Regions from separate parts of the Homo sapiens genome. Here region 2 is linked to region 1. Evidence: promoter capture Hi-C in human tissues and cell types (Jung and others, 2019). All regions are on one chromosome and are shown on one strand. Each heading gives the region's core, a stretch centred on a gene start or on the middle of the fragment in contact. The rest is flanking DNA. Distances are from core to core; before and after follow the strand shown. Region 1 holds the start of SCFD2 (sec1 family domain containing 2). Region 2 has its middle 130 kb from the start of CHIC2.

Evidence for each region. Contacts are between HindIII fragments. The study calls those that stand out against the background at their distance.
Region 2: a contact is called between a fragment that was not itself captured here and the fragment with the promoter of SCFD2 in region 1, in 2 of the 25 tissues and cell types used here (aorta and spleen).

What each region holds. Positions count from the first base shown.
Region 1 is chr4:53,364,170-53,368,425 of GRCh38, reverse strand. SCFD2 (sec1 family domain containing 2) reads left to right here and starts at 2,365. Exons shown (of 9, transcript NM_152540.4): 1 at 2,365-3,322. The coding sequence starts at 2,485. RefSeq lists enhancers at 2,400-2,449, 2,470-2,669, 2,890-2,939. The HindIII fragment of the contact is 11,346 bases long and covers 1,027-4,256 here.
Region 2 is chr4:53,929,604-53,933,859 of GRCh38, reverse strand. No RefSeq gene overlaps it. Among named protein-coding and RNA genes, the nearest start is that of CHIC2, 130 kb to the left of the region's middle. RefSeq lists a silencer at 3,609-3,773. The HindIII fragment of the contact is 4,528 bases long and covers 1-4,256 here.

The sequences.
Region 1 (4,256 bases), core at 1,116-3,615:
CCTGAAATTCTCCTTCCGTGTCACCCTCTCTGTCAAACTAATAAGCAAGCCCTTTGGCACTATATTCTTAACGTCTATTCATACTCCCCACTCTGTCCATCTGCTTGTTACGCTTTTCAACTCTCTCACCCAGATTTGCTGCTGATACTATTATTTTCTTAACTGCTCCCTCTGCGCTAAATTGCTCCATTTCAAATTATTTTCCATGTTTTGACTAGAACCATTTTTTTTCTAAAATCCAGATGTGAACAAATTATTTCCATACCCCAAAATACATTAATACTTCCCCACTGGCTGCTACTACTTAGAATGGAAAATAAGGCTCTTGCTGATCTAGCCCATTTCTTTCTTTTCTAATTCCTTGCTCTTATTTCTTCTTGCGCCTTTTTTCATACAATGCACTCCAGCTATAGGAAACCCTTTGTAGTTCCAGAGAACATATTGTACTGTTTTATGCCTCTACGACTTTGTTTATGCTGCACTCTGTGCCTGGACTGCTAAGAATCCTCCTCCCCATCCTGTCCACCTGGTGAACACCTGGGTTTCTTTGAAGGCAAGTCAAAACTCATGCCCTATATGAAGCTTTTTCTGACTTCTTCCTTTTTCTCTTAGAATTTATTTTTCCTCCTTCTTGACTCCTATACAAAAAATTTTAAAAAGTATTTGCTTCTGTAACATTTTATTGCACTTGTTTTACATGTGTGGGTCCCTTTATTTCATCATAATTATTTTGAAATCAGGGCTGTGGTTTAGTTTTCTTTATATCCTTAAAACCCAGACAGTGTTTGGAATACTGTACGTATTTATTAAAAATTGGCTGGATATATTATTATGTGGAATTTTTTTTTTTTTTGAGACAGAGTCTCGCTCTGTCGCCCAGGCTGGAGTGCAGTGGTGCCATCTTGGCTCACTGCAACCTCTCCCTCCTGGGTTCAAGTGATTCTCCTGCCTCAACCTCCCGAGTAGCTGGGATTACAGGTACCTGCCACCATGTCCAGCTATTTTTTGTACTTTTAGTAGAGACGGAGCTTCACCATGTTGGCCAAGCTGGTCTTGAGCCCCTGACCTCAGGTGATCTGCCCACCTCGGCCTCCCAAAGTGTTGGGATTACAGGCATGAGCCACCGCGCCTGGCCATGGATATTAATTGAACATTCATTCAACGAACATTTATTGAACACCTGTTATAAGTGTTGGGGATACCAAGCATCTAGTGCATAATTTAGCAAAACAGATAGTTTAAAGAAAATAGTGTTAATACTTACCCCATGATATGGCAAGTACTTAGCGAATGTATCAATTGAGTGGTTTGATAGGTGGGGGAAGTGAGAGGTGATAGGGTGATAGTGGTGGTGAGTTAGAAAAAGTCTCTCACAGGCAGTACTGTTGGAATGATTATTTTCGGTAAGTTTACCAGGTAAATTCTTTGTGGATTAGGTAATGAATTTTATTAACCATTGCATCTTTGAAGCTTAGCACAGAGATTATACTTAGTAATGTAAGTATATTGGTGGAACAAACAGAACCCATAAAACATTTTGGGTTCAGCCTATTGACTTCATTGTATCGGTACAATTTTTCTCCATGTTGGGAATAGCTGGAGAGAAATTGAGAAATCAAGAAGGATGTTGATGCTTTTTAAAGAGTGTGGATGTATCCTATAGGCAACTGGGCTAGGAGAAGCTTTTAAGCAGGAAAGTTGTAGGACCAACTTTGTTTATTAGGAAGAAAATAGAATTGGAGGGTAAAGAGATCAAAAGTCAGAAAATGTTGGGAGATCATTGCCTGGGTGAGCGATGATGTTGGGTTTTTGTGACAGCAAAAATGGAGAGGAAGGGCTGAATTCTGAGAGTTTTTAAGCCTATAAGATGTAGTGACGATGAGATGAGGGAGGAAAGATGGAGAAAGTGAAAATGAGAACAACAGGGTTTGTTATGAGGCTTGTGGGCGATAACGTATGTGACAGCAATCTATAAACCCAAAATATTGCACACGGTTGTTTTTATTATCTTTTTCTAGTTGCTCTGAGTTTAGATTGAGAAGGTGGCTGTACTTTTGGAGACGTGTTCATATCTAAGGAAGATACCAAATTTCGGATTAGGTTTTTATTTCGGAGACTTTTCAAGGAACATGAGAAGATTATCTGAGAAGATTATCTGCGCAGACAGGCCGAGCGACGGAAAGAACTCAGTTCAGCTCCATCTCAGGAAACACCTGATCTCCACGAGCTTTTGAGGAAGCCCGGAGCCACAGAGCCCCACCCACTTCTTTCCCGACCGCGCCATCCTTCCTCACTCCCGGCCTCCTCTCTAGCCAATCACCGCTCAGTTTAACGTCATCACCGAGCGCCATCAGGGAGCGTGTCAGAGGCCGACCACGTGTACTGTGGAGACTGTCAAAGTCTCCCGGAGCCCAATTTCCGGAAGCGGTGAGTTCTGAAAGAAGTTCCTGCACCGTAGTTTCCCAAGTCTGCGAATCCCCAACCATGAGCGCCTCGGGCGTACTGTCCTTTACCCAGCAAGGATGGGAGCAGGTGCTGGCCAAAGTGAAACGGGCTGTGGTTTACCTGGACGCCGCCTGCGCCGAGAGCCTGCACTGGGGCTGCGGATCCACCCGTCTCCTGGAGGCGGTGGGGGGTCCTGACTGTCACCTGCGAGAGTTCGAGCCCGACGCAATTGGTGGTGGAGCCAAGCAGCCCAAGGCAGTGTTTGTGCTGAGCTGCCTGCTGAAAGGCCGGACCGTGGAGATCCTACGGGACATCATCTGCCGCAGTCACTTCCAGTATTGTGTGGTGGTCACAACCGTGAGCCACGCTGTCCACCTCACAGCTAATCATGTCCCAGCGGCGGCAGCGGCCGAGATGGAGGGGCAGCAGCCGGTGTTCGAGCAGCTGGAGGAGAAGCTGTGTGAATGGATGGGCAACATGAACTACACGGCCGAGGTGTTCCATGTCCCGTTATTGCTTGCCCCTGTTGCTCCCCACTTTGCCTTGACTCCAGCTTTTGCATCCCTTTTCCCACTGCTACCCCAGGATGTGCACCTCCTTAATAGCGCCCGACCGGACAAGAGGAAGCTGGGAAGCCTGGGTGATGTGGACTCCACTACGCTAACCCCAGAGCTGCTGCTGCAGATCAGATGCCTAGTGTCAGGCCTCAGTTCTCTGTGTGAACATTTAGGAGTACGGGAGGAGTGTTTTGCTGTAGGTTCCTTAAGTCAGGTCATCGCTGCGGATCTGGCCAATTATGCCCCTGCAAAGAACAGGAAGAAGACTGCTGCAGGCAGGGCATCAGTGGTTTTTGTGGACAGAACCCTGGATCTCACAGGTAAGTGCATTGCTCTGGAGTTCTTCATTACCATTCCCCACATTGCTGGGACTTTCATTGATTCAGCATATATTTTATTGACCTTTTATTATATATTAGATTGAGGATACAAAGATGAACTAGATGGACACGGTCTCTAATCTCACAGAGTTTATTGTCTAAAGTGGAATACAGACAGGTGAATTAGCAATTACAATAACATTTGTTAAATGCTGTAATGGGTAGAAATGTCATAAATGCCCATTGCCTTGTTAAACAACAACTTTAGCCCAAGATTATGCTGACAGGGAGGAAAACTGTGCACCTGGGAAATTTTATTTTTAGAAATTTACGAATGCCAGTATTCACAACAGTCCTTCATAAGAAGACTCTGGTTTGTTGGAGAAGTGTTAATAGATGACCCAGCGGAAGGAAAACTACTGCACAAGAAAACATAAAATTATTACAGACAATTGAGGTTTAGGAAATGAGTGTTCAAAAGTGAGGCTGAACTTAAATGTTACTAGTAAATGAGATGAAATAGAATTGTAGAAAATATTTTCAAATGTTTATTGATTTATTTTTAGCTCTCATTGTATTAAAGATTAAGTAAATAATCTCAAATTGTAATAATGTATTATTTACACAAAAGAAACAAATGTAATCCTTAAAGCAGATGAAGAAAAGACACTTTCTGATGTTTGATATGTTATTTTCAAAGGTCAACTTTATTGTTCTCTAATTAGGTTGTATAATACTGTTAGTAATATAGCCTAGCCACTTCCAAGTCCAGGGAGAATAATCGGAAAACTGACATTGGTAGGCATTCCCTTTAATCGGTCAGAAAAAAAGTTGAATTAAGTTATAAAAAACGAAATAGGTATATTTGAGTTTTTAATCTTAATAAGATTAATTTTCAGATAAAAAATGGAAAGTAGGCTAAATGGTAATACTG
Region 2 (4,256 bases), core at 903-3,402, 570 kb before region 1:
AGATATGCAGCATTATTTCTGAGGGCTCTGTTCTGTTCCATTGGTCTATATCTCTGTTTTGGTACCAGTACCATGCTGTTTTGGTTACTGTAACCTTGTAGTATAGTTTGAAGTCAGGTAGCATGATGCCTCCAGCTTTGTTCTTTTGGTTTAGGATTATCACCCTAATTTCTAAGAGCACTCCCGGCATACAGTAGGTGCTAAACGAATGGTGGTGAACTCAGTGACATTTGAGTCTTTGTGCTTTCCTGGGTAGACCATGGTGCTGATGAGTTTGGGTTTAGCTGTTGTTGCCTGACCCTGGCCTGAGCTGGGAGCTCCTTAAAATAGCCTATAAAGAGTGCTCACATTCAAAGTCCTCCTGGGAGCATTTCTCTGATATTTCAAAACAGAATTCAGGAGCAAGAGGAGCAAAGCTGAGGCTTAATGCAGCATGTTAAAGAAACAGGCAGAAGGACATGGCCAAAATCAACTCAGAGTCTTCCAAATGAGGGGACAGCTGCTGCCTCTGGCGGGAAACATTCCTTCCCTTCCCCCTTTCCTGCAGGTAATGGCACAAAATATATTCAAGCGAAAGAGGGGTGAGAACTGGGCATGAATCTTCCTTCCTCACGCTGATTGGACTGGCATCCACCAGGCTTTGCTTCCTGCATCTACCACCGAAGACTTAGTCTCAGGCCAGTCTCTCTTTTGCCTGGGGTGTAAATCCAGGGTTTTTGGATCCCAGGTTGGAAGAGGTGGATGGGGACCACATGTGTGCCAAATGCCTGCAGCTCTGGTTAATCTTGGCTTGGGAGTGATTATTTGCTGATGGTGATGGGGAGAGGGGACCGGGAAGAAAGTTCACTTCTCATTCTTTAGTGATGTGTAAATGTATTGCCATTGGCTCTTATTAGGTAGCTCTAAGCCAGTGACGGAAAAATGTTTTCATTGGCAGGAAAACACGTTTTACATCCACATACATGCATATCTACTTTTTGGCAGATGCAGAAACTTTGTGGCTTAGACTCCCATCCTATTCCTCTGTTTGTTGGATCCTACCAATGACTTAAGGCCTTGCTCAGTGCCTGTCTCCTACAAGAAGTTTTTCTTGACAACTCCAGTACGCACTGCTTTCTCCGTGAGCGTGGCTCTTGTTGCAATGGTCGTCTTCACCACAATCAGAGTAGATTTTCTAGAAAGGAGCTTAAGCTTTAGGACCTGCTAGTTATAAGAATGACTTCCAAGATCCCAGAAGCACCTTTGCTTGGGTTCACATGGTCACATGCTTTTGGTAAAAATGTAAAAGTAAGATTTTAACTGTCATAAGCTAAGGATGCTGTTGACTCTGTTTGCCCCTGCGTCACTTTTCCCTTGAGGAGTTGTGTGGTGATGGAGAGGCATGAGCATTTTGGGGAATCCAGCTAAGGAGAAGTTGAGTTGGAGATTTATTTGTTTTGGTCGAGTGGGATCTATATATATGGTTCACACTTCCATGTAGAGTCGAGAAATTGTTGGTTATTCTTGGGTATTCTAGGCTTCCAGGAACCCTCTTGCTCAGTGCATGCTCTGTGGCATCATGGGTCTTATTATGATTTAAATGTTTCCTATGATGCCTGACACTGGAAGCATGTGGGAGTGAAGAAGAAGCAAGAGTTAAAATGTGCAGAATGAGAAGCTAATCTGTGGAATGTTCTTTCAATCATCAGCTGTACACAATTATGAGTGAAATATTTGGTTCTCATTGATGTCTAGTCAAGACAGAAATTATCTTCAGGAAAATACTCAGAAATGTGGTATATACAATTATAATGCACCATACTATCATACTTTTAAAGTAGAAATCAATGCAAAATAGAATTGATTAGAATTCTCGTGTTTGTAGAGCACAAAGCTGTAGCAATACTATAAACTGTGAAGTATCATTTTTATGCATGCCAAACTGCATTTTATGTCTACCAACATATTGAGTCAGTCTTAGCATATCTGATATAACTTGTCCTGATGAAACCTGGCAACACCAGACAAAAAAACATTCAAAAGCACTAAAATCACAGCAAAGCACCCTAAGTGTTCTTGTCACAAAGCTCCCAAGCATATTCATCCATAAGTTATTGTACACAGCAGAGGGAGAATTCAATTAAACAATTATGTAGCTCTATCCAACATAATGGCATTTTAAAATGCATTTGAATTGCTTTGTCTTCTTTACATGAAAATGATATTGCACAGTTGTTATGTGACGAGATGATCATATGAAAAGTATGCAGCCAAAGAATAGGAAAAAATATTGTAGAGGTTATGTCATTTTTCAGGATTTTGTTATATTTGTGGTGTTTGTCACTTTTCAAAAATGTGTGGCCGGGCACGGTGGCTCACGCCTGTAATCTCAGCCCTTATGGAAGCAGAGGTGGGTGGATCTCTTCAGCTCAGGAGTTTGAGACCAGCCTGGGCAACATGGCAAAACCCTGCCTCTACAAAAAATACAAAAATCAGCCAGTTATGGTGGTGGGTGCCTGTGGTCCCAGCTACTTGGGAAGCTGAGGTGGGAGGATCACTTGAGCCTGGGAGGTGGAGGTTGCATTGAGCCATGATAGTGCCACTGTGCTCCAGCCTGGGTGACACAGTGAGATCTTATCTCAAAAAAAAAAAAAAAAAAAAAGAGCAAAAATGTGTAATTTGTTACGATTTCATATTTCAATCTAAATAAACTTTCACTCTTTTTCTGAGACAGGGTCTCCCCCTGCAGCCCAGGCTGGAGAGCAGTGGTGCAATCATAGCCCACTGTAGCCTCCAACACCTGGGCTCAAGTGATCCTCCCACCTCAGCCTCCCAGCTAGCTAGGACTATCCCACACCCAGCTAGTTTTTCTAACTTTTTTGTAGAGATGGGGTATCACTATGTTGCACAGACTGGTCTTGAACTCCTGAGCTCAAGCAAGCCTCCTGCATCGGCCTCCCAAAGTGCTGGGATTACAGGTGTGAACCAGTGCACCTGGCCATAAATATTTACTTTTATATGTAATTTTGTATTTCTATTTTGAATTCTTATCCTTAGAGTCTCCTTCCTCCATAAACAAGCTTCAAAACCCACAATTCCTGAATTAGCCTTTGACCACAGTTGAGTAGTATTTTATGCTCTTATATTATTCTTATAAAAAGTATTGAATTTAAAAGCATGACAGTTTATGCCTGGGGACAGAATTTTCAACAATACAGAGCTTTGTGTGGAAAGTAAATAGTGTAGTCTCCCAGCACACCTGACTCCCCGCAGGTCACCACTGTTGGTTTGATGTCATTCTATTCTCCTTTTTCTTGAGCCAGTTCATTGTGATTAAGTGTGGCTTTGGAGCGAGCTACCTGGGTTGACTTATGCCTCTGCCCCTGTGGCCTTGGGAAAACTACTAAATCTATTAGTGCCTCCTCTTAAAGGAAAGATGTAATTGTACTGTACCTGTGTCGTAGGGGTGCTGGGAGGACAGTTTAGGGCTTAGAGGAGCAACCAACATGCTGTACTCATTTTATGTTAGTTTCATTTGGAAAATGCATATATTAGCATTACTTTGCAGATATTTCATGTGCCTAAGTATACTGGTCCTCCTCTCCCAAGACTGTAAACTCAAGGCTGGGAACTAATGTAAAACATCTTGAACATTGCCGCCTAATTCCTCAGAAATGTGTGGATGTGAGCGCCATCTAGCTGCATTATCTGTGGTTCTACTGTGACCACCAGGCACAATTCAGCTCACGTGGCTGTTCTGGCTCAGCAGTTGTTGGATTTGTCAGGAAATGGAGGATGACAGTGGTGTGACCAGCATATCAGGAGGCACTCAGGAGAAGTTAGCGATCCAGTGGAATGAAGAGTATCTCTGAAATGGGATGAGATGGAAGGCCACATCCACGGAACATAGAATAGTTTGAGATTTATACAAAACTTGAAGCCGCACAAAGCAAAAGCTGTCTCCGTGTCCCATTGCAAAGGCACTCAGGGCCAGGCGTGGTGTCTCATGCCTGTAATCCCAGTACTTTGGGAGGCCAAAGCAGGAGGATCGCTTGAGGCCAGGAGTTTGAGACCAGCCTGGCCAACATAGTGATACCCTGTCTCTACAAAAAAACAGAAAAATTAGCCGGGCATTGTTGGTGTATGCCTGTAGTCCCAGCTACTTGGGAGGCTGAGGGAAGAGGATCACTTGAGCCCACGAGTCTGAGGCTTCAGTGAGCTCTGGTTGTGCCACTGCACTCCAGCCTGGGTGACAGAGCAAGACCTTGTCTCAAAAA